2 separate regions of the Homo sapiens genome follow, and region 1 is linked to region 2. Evidence: promoter capture Hi-C in human tissues and cell types (Jung and others, 2019). All regions are on one chromosome and are shown on one strand. Each heading gives the region's core, a stretch centred on a gene start or on the middle of the fragment in contact. The rest is flanking DNA. Distances are from core to core; before and after follow the strand shown.

Region 1 (6,010 bases), core at 3,125-5,624, 37 kb before region 2:
GAGGCTGGAAACAATTACTGTTGTGCTGGGTGTCTGGGTCGCCTGGGTGGTTCTGCCCATTCTGGCCGGCCTTGCCGTGTGTTTCTGGTTACCTGGCACGTGAGCCAGCTGGCTGGTCCCAGAGGCCCTCAGTTGCATGGCTGGCCCTTGGCTGGGGAAGGAGCACTGACAGGACCCTTCGTTCGCCTCACTCAGCGGAGGCCAGTTCACCCCGTCCCACAGCCGGCTCAGGGACCCTGACAGTGAGCAGAGTAAGGACGGCCTCTGGAGGCCCAGGCTTGGAGCCGCTCCTTCTGCCCACCCAGGTCTGGGCTGGGGCTGACTCCACCTCTTCATGGGAGGAGCCACAGAGCCGCATTATGAGGGGCACAGATACAGGGAAGGGGATGGTTGGGAACCACTTGTGCAGCCAGCCTACCACTGTACAAACTAGTTTCCTGAAATAATGCTCAGGGAAAAGAGACCTCAGACTACCGGAAGGCAGTGCCGACGAAGTCACAGTCCAGGCGACGTTTCCATTGGAACGATGTGCATGGGGAGCTGTGTATAGAGAGGACAGGGTGCTGGAACCCAGAGCCCTGGGAGGGAGTGGTCCTCACAGGGCAGCTTCAGTGGGCCCCGCAGGACAGCCCTGCTTCTGGGTGGAGAAGCCCAGATGTGCCTTCTGAGCACGATGGCCCTTGAGGCCCAGAGCTGAGAGAATGATGACCGCTCTCTCGTGTTAATTCACAAAACCCAGCACCTCAGGCAGTGTGGACTGAGCCTGAGATGTGTGCACCTGGGGAGCTGCAGGTGGGACCGTGGCAGGGCGCCAGCCTCCCCAGCACGTGCGGCCTGGGCCAGCTGGGCTGCTCTGGGAGGTGCCCCGCACCCCTGTGACGCTGGTTCCCTCACGGCTGCTTGTCTCGCTGCTCCCCAGTCGGAGGCCTGCAGGACTTTGGCACCCGAGAAGGACAAGGCCACCAAGCACTGCTGCATTCATCTCCCGGATGGGACATCCTGCGTGGTGGCTGTCAAGGCGGGCTTCTCCATCAAAGACATCCTGTCCGGACTCTGTGAGCGGCATGGCATCAACGGGGCGGCCGCGGACCTCTTCCTGGTGGGCGGGGACAAGGTACTGGGCCCGCCTGACCCTCGTGCTGCCCTCAGGCCATGACCTCCCCGCTCCCTGGCCCCCAGCTTTGTCAGAGTCCTCAGGCTGCCCCCTCCTGCGCTCCTCATTTCAACAGCGCCTGGGGCGGAGGCCGGATTATCTGAACTGAGCTATCTGCTGGGAGCACTTTGCACGTGGGTGCTGGGTTGGTGTGGAAAGGGTGATCGCTTTCTTTGGATGGCTGTTTTTGAAGCTGCTCTTCTGCTCTGCACAGCTGTGTGCCTGGGGCACGTGGGTCTGCGTTTGGGGGGCTGCCTGCTGTGCCCACGTTGATTCTGGTCTCTCTGTTCCTCAGCCTCTGGTGCTGCACCAAGACAGTAGCATCTTGGAGTCAAGGGACCTGCGCCTAGAAAAGCGCACCTTGTTTCGGTAAGAGGAAGATCGCTGTCATTCACCTGAGGCTCCCAGAGCCAACCCCGTGTGCCCACCACCTGCTGGTCTCTGCGCTTAGCGGGCGGCCTGTGGATGCTCCATGCTGGGCTACGATGGGGTGTCGGGGCGGGGGGAGGGTGGAGGCCCACACGAGGCAGCCCCCCTACAAGCCCGGGGGTGAGAGGCGCCCTCTCCTCCCTGTCCCGTGAACAGGGACTGCCCTGGCCTGGTGAGCCCAGCCCCCTAAGATGCCGAGAGGGAGGGGCAGGAGTGCTCTCTGTAGGGTGGATGCCCCACAGGTAGCCAGGCTGCTGTGCAGGACACTGCTATCCCTGGAGGAGGAGACCATAGCCCTTGCTTGGCCTGACTTTTCCCACGTGGAGGAAGGCACGTTCTGATCAGCTGGGGCTGAACTGGGGGGCACACCGAGGCCTTGAGGGCGGCCTGGGGCTGTGCTGTAGTTCTGCTCGTGAGACTGATCTCCTAATGAGGGCTGACATGAGTTGGTAGTGAATTTTTTCATCCCCCACCAGGCTGGATCTTGTTCCGATTAACCGGTCAGTGGGACTCAAGGCCAAGCCCACCAAGCCCGTCACGGAGGTGCTGCGGCCCGTGGTGGCCAGATACGGCCTGGACCTCAGTGGCCTGCTGGTGAGGCTGGTGAGTGTTGCACGGGGCCCGGGCGTCGTCACCGCAGGCACTGTCTGTTCCCTTTGGCAGCCTCTGTGTTGTTCACTGAAGAGGGCACACCAAGAAGCGGTGTCTTCCCCTGATCTGGTTGTCCCCCTTGGAGGAGAGGAGACAGCCTCTGCCATCCCCAGTTCTCGTTCTGTGCAGTGGGAGCCATCATGGTTTATTTGTACCTTGGTCATTCCAAAAAGAATTGATATTTGAGAGGTGGTTTTGCTCCAGGGAGGCCAAAATGAGAAACAAAGCAACCAACCCTGGACTATCCTCCGCTGTTGGCCAATGTGATCAGATAAGAGAGTGCGGATGGCCCTGCCCCCACTGCACCTGCTGGGCCCGGGCATTGTGCTCATGCCCCCAGTGCACGGTCACATGGAGATGTCCTGATTCTCACCTGCACTTTGTAGATGGAAGAACTCAGCTGGCATTTCCAGGCTGCGCCATTATGATGTGAATGGGGTTAAGAAAGAAAACACCGCGTGGGGTGGTGACCGCAGGTGCTGGGCAGGCCACGCGAGATGGCGAGAGCTGGGCCCCGCTGAGGGTGCTCTGGAGCGTGGGGGTTCCGGGCACAGTGTCTGCCTAGTCTTCTTTCCTTGAAAACTTTATTGGAGCAATGATTTCAAGTATTTTCAGGATTTTAGTTTTCCCTGAAACTACACTCAAAATTATTCAAGAGCTTTGAAGTGAACAAGAAGAACCTATTAAATTATTTACAGACACCACCTCCGAGGGTAACCTGAAGCCTCTTCCCCGCGCTGCAGGCTCCATCCTGGAGTCCAGAAATCTGCAGGTGGGAGACAGACCTGGCCTGGCTCCCAGGTGTGCCCCTCTGGCCGACTCTGGGGAGACGCTGCGCAATTGTTTAGCCCCTGTGTGTCACAGTTTCCCTGACTGTAAAATGGGGTTGGTCGTGGCAGCGTGCTCGTGGCATGGTTGGGGGGCACCAGGGTGGAAGGGCTGGCTGCGGTCAGGCTCGTTCCCTGTGAGCTGCGGCCCTCGGCTGCCGAGGCTGTGGGGGCTATGGAGGATTCGTGTGGAATGGGTTGTTTGGGATGTGGCTTTTCCTTGGACGCTGTCTCCTGACCTCTCCAGTGAATTCTGTGGCCCCCTGTGTCCACGAATGTGGTGGAGAAGGCGGGACCTGGGGCAGTTCCTCTGCTTCCCCCGCAGGGCCCACCACGCCTGCCCAGCGGACCAGCCCCTTCAGGAGCTTAGAGCCTCTCCCGCCTGGCATTGGACAGCTGTCATTCCCCTGACTGACAGATCGTGAATGCCAAACATGTTCAGATGTCTTTTCTTAACAGTGACTATGGCAGGTGAAGAGTCAGATTCTCTGCCAGAGGAGAGCTCTGATGCAGAGACAAGAACTCCAGCCCGGTGGCTAGTGGCGCTTCATTTCAGCCTCAAACCTGGTCCTAAAGTTGTCTGTCTTTGCTTCCTTGTTTACAAAGGGGAACATCTGCTCTCAGTATTCCCCTCATAGCAGTTTCGAGGGTCAGTATTTCCCTCATAGCAGCGTCCGAGGGTCAGTGTTCCCCTTGTAGCAGCGACCAAGGGTTGCCACCTCCTGCGTGATTCCATCGAGCTTAGGATGGTCGTGTAGTCGGGACCCATGTCAGGAGCATGGCTCAGCCCCAGCTTGTGTGCCTCAGTCAGGCAGGCCTCACCTCGGGGCCATCTCCTGCGTGACTCCATCAAGCCTAGGACAGTCATGCAGTCGGGTGGGATCACACACATCTGTTCCCTGAAGTTCCAGTCTGGGTAAATTATTCAGTGCTGATCTCTGCCCTAGAGTGGAGAGAAGGAGCCCCTGGACCTTGGCGCCCCTATATCGAGTCTGGACGGACAGCGGGTTGTCTTGGAGGAGAAGGATCCTTCCAGAGGAAAGGGTGAGTAGGGCTGGTGCAGCGGATGGGGAGAGGGTGAGTGGGTCCAGTGCAGGGGAGGGGGCTATGGAGCCGGTGCAGGGGAGGGGGTGAGTGGGGCCAGTGCAGGGGAGGGGCAGGTGGGGCTTGCGCAGGAGAGGGGGTGGGCGGGGCCTGCACAGAGTAGAGGGTAAGTGGGGCCAGCGCAGGGGAGGGGGCTGTGGCGTTGGCATAGGGGAGAGGGTGAGCGGGGCCAGTGCAGGGGAGGGGGCTGTGGCGTTGGCATAGGGGAGAGGGCGAGCGGGGCCAGTGCAGGGGAGGGGGCTGTGGCGTTGGCATAGGGGAGAGGGTGAGCGGGGCCAGTGCAGGGGAGGGGGCTGTGGAGTTGGCACAGGGGAGAGGGCGAGTGGGGCCAGCGCAGGGGAGGGGGCTGTGGGGCCTGCACAGGGTAGGGGGCAGGGGTTGGCATAGGGGAGAGGGTGAGCGGGGCCAGTGCAGGGGAGGGGGCTGTGGAGTTGGCACAGGGGAGAGGGCGAGCGGGGCCAGTGCAGGGGAGGGGGCTGTGGGGTTGGCATAGGGGAGAGGGCGAGTGGGGCCAGTGCAGGGGAGGGGGCTGTGGGGTTGGCATAGGGGAGAGGGCGAGTGGGGCCAGTGCAGGGGAGGGGGCTGTGGGGTTGGCATAGGGGAGAGGGCGAGTGGGGCCAGTGCAGGGGAGGGGGCTGTGGGGTTGGCATAGGGGAGAGGGCGAGCGGGGCCAGTGCAGGGGAGGGGGTGAGTGGGGCTTGTGCAGGAGAGAGGGCAGGCGGGGCTGGCCCAGGGGAGGGGGAGGCTTTGGAGTTAGTACACAAAAGAGAATTGGTCTGGGCCCCCTGGTCCCTCCTTGGTGCCCTGATCTGGCGCCCTTCCCTCCAGGCACAAAACAGGAAGCCAGGGCAGTAGGCGCCTGTGCTCTGCCCGGCAAAATGGAGGCTGCAGGCTCGGTCATTTGGGCTGGTTCTGCAGTTCCTTGCGTGCAGGGAATCGGGCGGTCGACAGAGCTCTTTCCAACGTGTTGCCTTGGTCATGACAGTCCTGCCCTGGGGAAGCTGGGTCCGGCCAGCAGCCTTCGGAGATGGGCTCGTCGCCCGGCCCCCACCTCATCCTGACGCGCAGGAGCCGGCCCTCCTTAGAGCCCTTGTTGAGAACCGTGCGTGAGGAAGGTTACTCAGACCCAGGAGGGTGGGTCCTGTTTGTAGCTGTCCCCAGGGACAGGCAGAGGCGTGGCCTTGGGGCCTGCAGGTGCAGGTGCCGTAGGGAGGTGTGTCTTGGAAAGAGCTTTCTGGAAACCCACCTGCAGATGTTCTAGGTAGAGAGCTCACTTTGTGAGGAGCCACTTCAGGTGACATTGGGCTGCCCCTCTGCCTTTCAGGTTGTTGGCCCTGATGATGTCACGCAGGGAGCACGTGGCTCACTTGTCCCCACCCAGGGAGACCTGGGCCATGGGTCCCAGTCAGAAGCAAGCGCTGAGGCCATTAGTCCTGGAGCTCCAACTCTTGCTCCCCTCCCCAACTCCTCACAGAGCAGAGACCCTTCCCCGAGCCCACCCTTTGCTCTAGGGAAAGCCTTACGCTGGGCCCTGACACCCACCCAGGCAGGTGGGGCAGGCACAGCATGTGTAACCCAGCAGGGCGGCCAGCAGCTTTGCCCCGGCTGACCCTCTGTGCCCAGGGCCTGCTGGGCCTCGGGGCTTGTTTGTGTACAGGCAAGTCCTGTGGTGGAGCTTGGCGCTCAGCGTTTTTGTAGGGCTGTATGTGGGGCAGGAGCGCGACTCCTCCAGTCACATTTGGGCCACAGAAATGGGCTTGAGGCCGTTAGTGCCAGCAGAGGCCAGCCTGTGGCCCTGGCATGGGGCAAAGGCTGTATTTGAAAATATGTCATGGACTGGCACAGT
Region 2 (5,896 bases), core at 502-3,001:
TTCAGCAGCCCTGGAGCCGCATGGAGCAGGGAAGGGAGTTGTCTACCCTCCGGCATCCTGTGTGTTCCAGGCTGTGTGGGAGCAGGTGCAGCTGCCAGGCATGGCAGGAGCCTGGGCCCGGGCCAGCACTCAGGAATGCAGCAGGGCCCTGCCTCTCCCTGTAGGGATAAGCAAGTGCCAGGCGCCCAGGGCAGCGGATGTGTCTGTGGCTACAGCCCCAACGGCCCCCGCCTCCGCACCGGCTGTCCTGGGCCAGCCCCTTGGGGGCCTGGGATGTGTGGGGAGCATGAATGGGGCTCTGTGACCCAGCAACTGTTCTGCGGAAGGCGGCTGGTGGCTGCACAGGTGACTGCGGGGGTGGGTGGGGGATGCAAAATTCTGCTTCCTGGGCCTGGTGTCCCCCGCCTTGCATGAGGCCCTGACAAGACATCACCGAAGCACCAAAGCCAACCCTTGTGGCCCACCGGAGACCTGTCTCTTGGATCACAGGGGCAGTGGGGAGGGGCGCCCAGGGCTCCCGATGCCTCTGAGCCCTGCTCTGAGGTCAGCCGATGTGGCTCAGTCCTGGCTGTGAGGCCTCACGCTGCCCTGATTCCATTTGCTCCTCAGTGCGAGGCAGACAGAGCCCAGCCTAGGGTCTGGATGGGATGAAATGAAGACGTCTCCTCCCTAACGGGACACTGTCTACCCCTTCCTTCTTCTCCCCCGAGAACCGTCAGCCCCGTGAGGATGGGGTCTAGGGTAGGGCATGTGGACGGAGCTTTGCTGTTTGTCCAGGTGCTTATCTTCTAGGGTGCCATCGCCCCTCCCCACTGCTGTTCCCGTATCTGCTGGGTGTCCCCAACCCCAGGGTGGTGGAGGCCGTCTCTCGGATGGGGCTGACACCCAAGGCACGGACCTGCCAGGTCCCCCAAAGCACATGGCCTCTCTGCAGAAGAACCTGGATGTGACATCTAATGCCCAGGCCAGAGCTTGGGGACAGCTGGACTGGAGCCACAGGGTCAAGGAGGGGGAGTCCAGAAGCGCAAAGTCCACCCAGCTGGGAGGGCTGCTGGCAGGTCCTTTACAAAGCAGGCAGCTCCTCTGCCCATCGGAGCCGGCTGGCCTAACCAGGGCCTGCTCTTGCCTGGGATGGGGGCAGAAGAGGTGGAGACCTGGGGCCCTGAGGCGGCACTGTGGGTCCTGGACCCGCCCACCTGCACTGGGGTCCCTGCAGGCTTTTAATGGGAACAGAAATGGAGGAAGAGACAGAGGCTGCCAGGGGCTCCCCGACCCCTACTGCCTGCCTGGGGAGGGGTCACCTCAGTGTGGGGGAAGCCTGGGGATGTGAGAGCATCCTAGGCCTGGGCTGCCTGTGGCCAGTCTGTTGTCCGGGTGTCTAGTGACCCCTGGGGTAGGGGCAGATGCCAGTCTGGGAAGCCGGATTGTTTGAAGACCAACTTTAAAGTTGGGAGCAGTGCCCAGAGCGGGGCCGATGTCTGCTAGGTGGTTGTCTCTGCTTTTTGAAAAAGAAGTCCCCGCCCGACCCCCGCCCCGCCAGGCGCTGGTCTGAGCGTCTGAGCCCAGATGGTGCGCTTGCTCCAGAGGGCGGGCGGCTCCAGTGGCCGCCGCGGGACGGTGGGGCCAGAGGGGCCCGTGGGGGTGGGGGAGCCGCCCGCAGGAGAAGGAGCCCCGCCCGCGCCGGCCCTGGAGTCGCCGGTGTCGCCGCCCTGCCCGCGGGCCCGCCCTCCTGGCCCAGCCCAGGGCCCTGCGAGCTATTTTGAAAGTGACCCTGGGCTGGGGCGCCGGGGCGAGCGCGGCGGCGCGGAACCATGACAGAAGATGACCGAGGCGGCGCTGGTGGAGGGCCAGGTCAAGCTGCGGGACGGCAAGAAGGTCGGGGCGCGTCGGGGGCGCGGGGGGGGGGGGCGCGGGCGCGGGCGGCGGCTCACGCTCCCCCCTGTCCCCGCAGTGGAAGAGTAGGTGGCTGGTGCTGCGGAAGCCGTCGCCCGTGGCAGGTGAGCGGGGCGGGCGGGGGACGGGGGGCGCGGGGGTAGCGACACGGGTTACCGAGGCCCGGGGCAGTAATGCCAGCTTGCCCAAAATCGCCGCCGCTGTCACCCCGCCGGGAAACCCGAGAGCCCCGTGCGGACCCGGACCCCCCGGCGCCCCTGGGAGCGCAGGTGGGGGCCCTGGACGGAAGAACCCTCTTTCCAGCAGGGCAGACTGAGGCCCGAGGGGCTGCCTGGTGGCCCTGTAGGCGGAGGGGACGCAGGCCCTGAGCCCCCCAGCAGAGCAGCAAGGGGCCCCCCAGAAGCAAAGCCCCACATACCTGAGGGTTGAGCTGTGCTTGTGGAAACGCTCAGAGCAGGGCCCCCGAACCCAGCCTCCAGGGGTGCTGCGTGGGTTAGCGCTGACCCTGGACCCCTCCCAGGCAGACGAGAGGCTGGGCTGCGGTAGGGCAGGGCAGAGTGACTGCCACATTGCTGGGGGAACAGTCCTCTGGGAGGAGGCAGGGGTCCCCCCCCAGTCCCCGCCCTGAGCCAGCACCCCAGCTTGGGGAGGGTCAGCATGGAGCCCCCAGGTCTGGCAGCCCAGGCCGCCTGCAGCGCTGGGCCTGTAGGGAGGGCTGAGCCGGGCCTGCAGCTGCTCCAGAGGACAGGTGCGGCAGAGCCGGCCAGGCCCGGGTCTGGGTGGGATGCTCGGCCTGTGTGCATGGGGGGCTGTACGCCAGGGGGCTGCCAGAGCACCCTCCAGGACGGGTGTCTGTGACTCCCAGGGAGGGTGTGGGGCAGGGATCCCTCCTGCGTCCCCTCTGCAGGGCCTCAGGTGGTCCTGGAGGAAAGCACTTCCTGCCTGCCTCCGCCTCCCCTTGCAGGGCCTGGACTGCACGCTGGTCACTTCTCCACTCAGCCCTCCGTGCCCAGACCTCCTGCCTGGAGCTGTGGGGGCACCGACAGAGCCTGGGAGGGCGTCTTTGTCCTCCGGGGCTGCAGGGGACCTGGTATAGGAAGGGATGGGGTCTGGGCAGAGTGAGAGGCCCTGCCAGGCTGGGGCGGATGACAGGCTTTAGTCAGCTGTGGCTGGGTCGGGGCCGTGGTGGGGCAGGTGATGCTTGGTGGATGGTGCTGGGCTGGAGCCGGTGCAGACCCTCCAGAGAGGCCGCATCCCAGGAAGGCACCCGGGACAGCAGCCCCCAAAGAGGAGTGTCGGGGGAGAAGTCTTTGTCCCTGTTGGAGGGATTTTCTTTCTGCATCAGACAGTCCCAGGAGGCAGGGCCTGCCAGCCTCAAGAGGGTGTGCTCCCCCGGCCGGTGAGTGCCTGAGTGGAGTGACAGGAGTTTGCAATGGGTCCCCCAGGTGGGACAATCTGTGAGTCTGTAGGTGAACATGGTGGCTCCCGAGCGTCTGCTGGGTTATCCCGTATCCTGCGCAGTTGAGATCTGCAGCCTTCTGGGGCTGGCGTGGGAGGTGATGTGGGGTAGTAGAAGGTGCCATGCCCCCTCTGGGTGGATGTTCATTCCAAGCCTTGAGGCCAGGTGTCCCTAGCACCCACTGACTCACTGGCCTGGGACCCATTGCTTTGGACACCTGCTTTCTGTGTTGGTCACTCCAGCAGCCCAGGGTTGAAACTGACACCCTGTGGGGTTGCCCAGAGGTCGGTCAGATGAGGGGATGGGACAGAGCGGAGTTCTCACGCCCACCTCCCCACCCTGACCAGGCCAGCCTGGCACCTCCTCTCCGCTCAGAGGCCCTGATGCCTCTTCCCCTGGCCCCTCATAAGCCTCCCTAGATGCTGCCCCCTTTGCCTTCACCCAGCTGCCTTCCCGCTCAGCGCTGGAGACCACCTCCCTTGTGGATGGGCCCGGCGTGGAGGGAGCAGGCCCCAGCCCTGGAGGAGCAGACAGCACAGACCCTGCGCTCCTGGTGTGAGGGAGAGAGGAAGGGTCCCGTCTGCTTCCTTGTAAGACAGGCAGGGTTCTTTTTGTTACCAGTGGTGATTTCCTTCTGGGAAGGGCCCCGATGTGCACCTTTTCCACTGGCACCTTTCTCCTCCTTGCGTTTTTCTCAATCGTGAGCACGTCTTTCTGTTATGACAAGGTTTAGCGAATGAAAGGGAAACCCTTTTATCAAAGGGCTGCTCAGCCACAGCGCCTGGCATGGCCAGTGGACGTCGGGCCGTCTGCCTCGGTGTGGGACTGCAGGGTGCCCTGCAGTGGGACCACGTTCCTCAATGTCTCCACCGCGTCCTCACTGCGGAATGCGTGTCTGCGTCCCCTCTCTGGGCAGGGCCCCGGGGGAGGAGGGTGGTCTGTGTCCAGTTGTGGCCCAGGACTCACTGCTGGTGGCCCTGCATGCCAGCGGCGCCTGGCCCAGCCCCTCTCTTCTTCCTCCCAGGTGCGGGGGCTGGGGGTGGTGAGGAAAGTGTTCTTGACATCCTGTGGAGAGTGTGGCCCCAGGCCAGACACTTGAGGGGGCCTGCTTCCCACAGGGGCTGCCCCTGGGGGCTTCATCCAGCTCAGAAAAGCCACCGGGAGGGCCCGAGTCCTGGAGCTGGCAGGGTCTTGGAGTCACCATGGTGGGGGGAAGCTGAAACTCAGAAACCCGAGGGATCTGGCCCAAGACATGGACTGCTGGGCAGAGCCCAGTTCCCCCCAGCCAGCCCAAACCTTGCCCCCCACAGCTGGCTGGAAGTTCCGCGCCTGCCCCCGGGCTGATGGCTGGGCCCTTGCTTAGTCTCCCCTATCCTTGCTCTCGGTGGGACTGAGCCCGGCCTGCAGGAGGGACCCCACGGAGACGGCGCAGGAGCCGGGAGCCCCCTGGCAGGTGCCCCGTGAGCCCCGGAGCTGCCCCACGGCTAGTGCTGTCCTGGGGCCCTGCCCTCCACAGCGCCTCCGCTAACGAGGGGCTGGGGGTGGACACTGGGTCGGCCCTTCCTGAGCAGAGCCTCCTGGTGGTGGATTTCCTGTGCGTCTGGCTCCTGCCCCAACGGACTGGGGCTGACATCCCAGCTCCGGGCTGAAGACCGGGCGTGGGTGGTGGCCAGTTATCCTCTCCCCATAGAAACATCAAGAACAGGGCGACCTTCCCTCAGCCCCCGCGTCAGGACAGGGAATCAGAGAGCTGGGGTTCAGCTCTCAGCTCCACATGTGGGAGCAGTGACCTGGGACGGCTCATTCCCCGCCTGCGTCCTCGTCTACTCACAGGGCTCTTGAGGGCAATGGAGAGGTGGGCGCGAGGGCCTGGCCCTGGCATCTGGAGCCTCGTCCTGGGCTGCCCTTGGTGATGTCTGTGGTCTGGGGGGCCCACCTGCACCACACCTCCAACACCTGTGCCGGGCAGGGGCACCCTCACGCGTTTCCTTCCCGAACCAGATTGTGAATGGGTCCGGGGCTAGGCACTGGATCTTGGTCTCGTGTGTCCTGGCTGTGGCCTGGCCCGAGGAGGCATCAGCAGGCCGGCCTGGTCGATGGCCGCCCCCCTTGCTCCTGCCCAGCTTCTGGGGGCGGCTCCAGGCTGCTGCACCCCAGCAGGGTCCCCTCAGGCGGCTACCACCTGCGTTGCTAAGGGCACAGCCTCAAGGTCACTGTGACCTCCAAAGGCTGTCCCGCAGCCACTTCTGCGGACTCCCATCGTGTTCAGTGTGGGCGGGGACCCCCCCCACTGCGTCCCCGGCCCACACATGCCCCTGCCTTCCCTGGGCCACCATGCCTGCTTGCTCCATCTTCCCTGCGGCTTCTCCCCCTCCTCCTTCTTCCCTCCCGCCCTCCCCGGCTCTCCGCCCTGGCTGTAAGGCCTTCCGTGTGCTCATGACTCCACAGTTATTTTTACATCTCCAGAAGCCTGCGTCCAACTGCCTGTGTGCATCGCCGCCCGGTGTCTGGTGGGCTTCTCAGCCTCACGTGTCCAGGGAAGAC

What was found. The method cuts DNA at HindIII sites, captures the fragments that hold promoters and counts their contacts. A contact is called where the count stands out against the background at its distance.
Region 1: a contact is called between a fragment that was not itself captured here and the fragment with the promoter of DOK7 in region 2, in 1 of the 25 tissues and cell types used here (mesendoderm cells).

The regions. Positions count from the first base shown.
Region 1 is chr4:3,421,457-3,427,466 of GRCh38, forward strand. RGS12 (regulator of G protein signaling 12) reads left to right here. Exons shown (of 18, transcript NM_001394154.1): 11 at 920-1,114; 12 at 1,449-1,522; 13 at 2,059-2,185; 14 at 4,008-4,104. Among named protein-coding and RNA genes, the nearest start is that of HGFAC, 18 kb to the right of the region's middle. RefSeq lists an enhancer at 2,730-3,229 and a silencer at 2,985-3,136. The HindIII fragment of the contact is 5,915 bases long and covers 1,418-6,010 here.
Region 2 is chr4:3,461,555-3,467,450 of GRCh38, forward strand. DOK7 (docking protein 7) reads left to right here and starts at 1,752. Exons shown (of 7, transcript NM_173660.5): 1 at 1,752-1,875; 2 at 1,952-1,997. The coding sequence starts at 1,822. RefSeq lists enhancers at 530-1,377, 4,295-4,904. The HindIII fragment of the contact is 11,592 bases long and covers 1-5,896 here.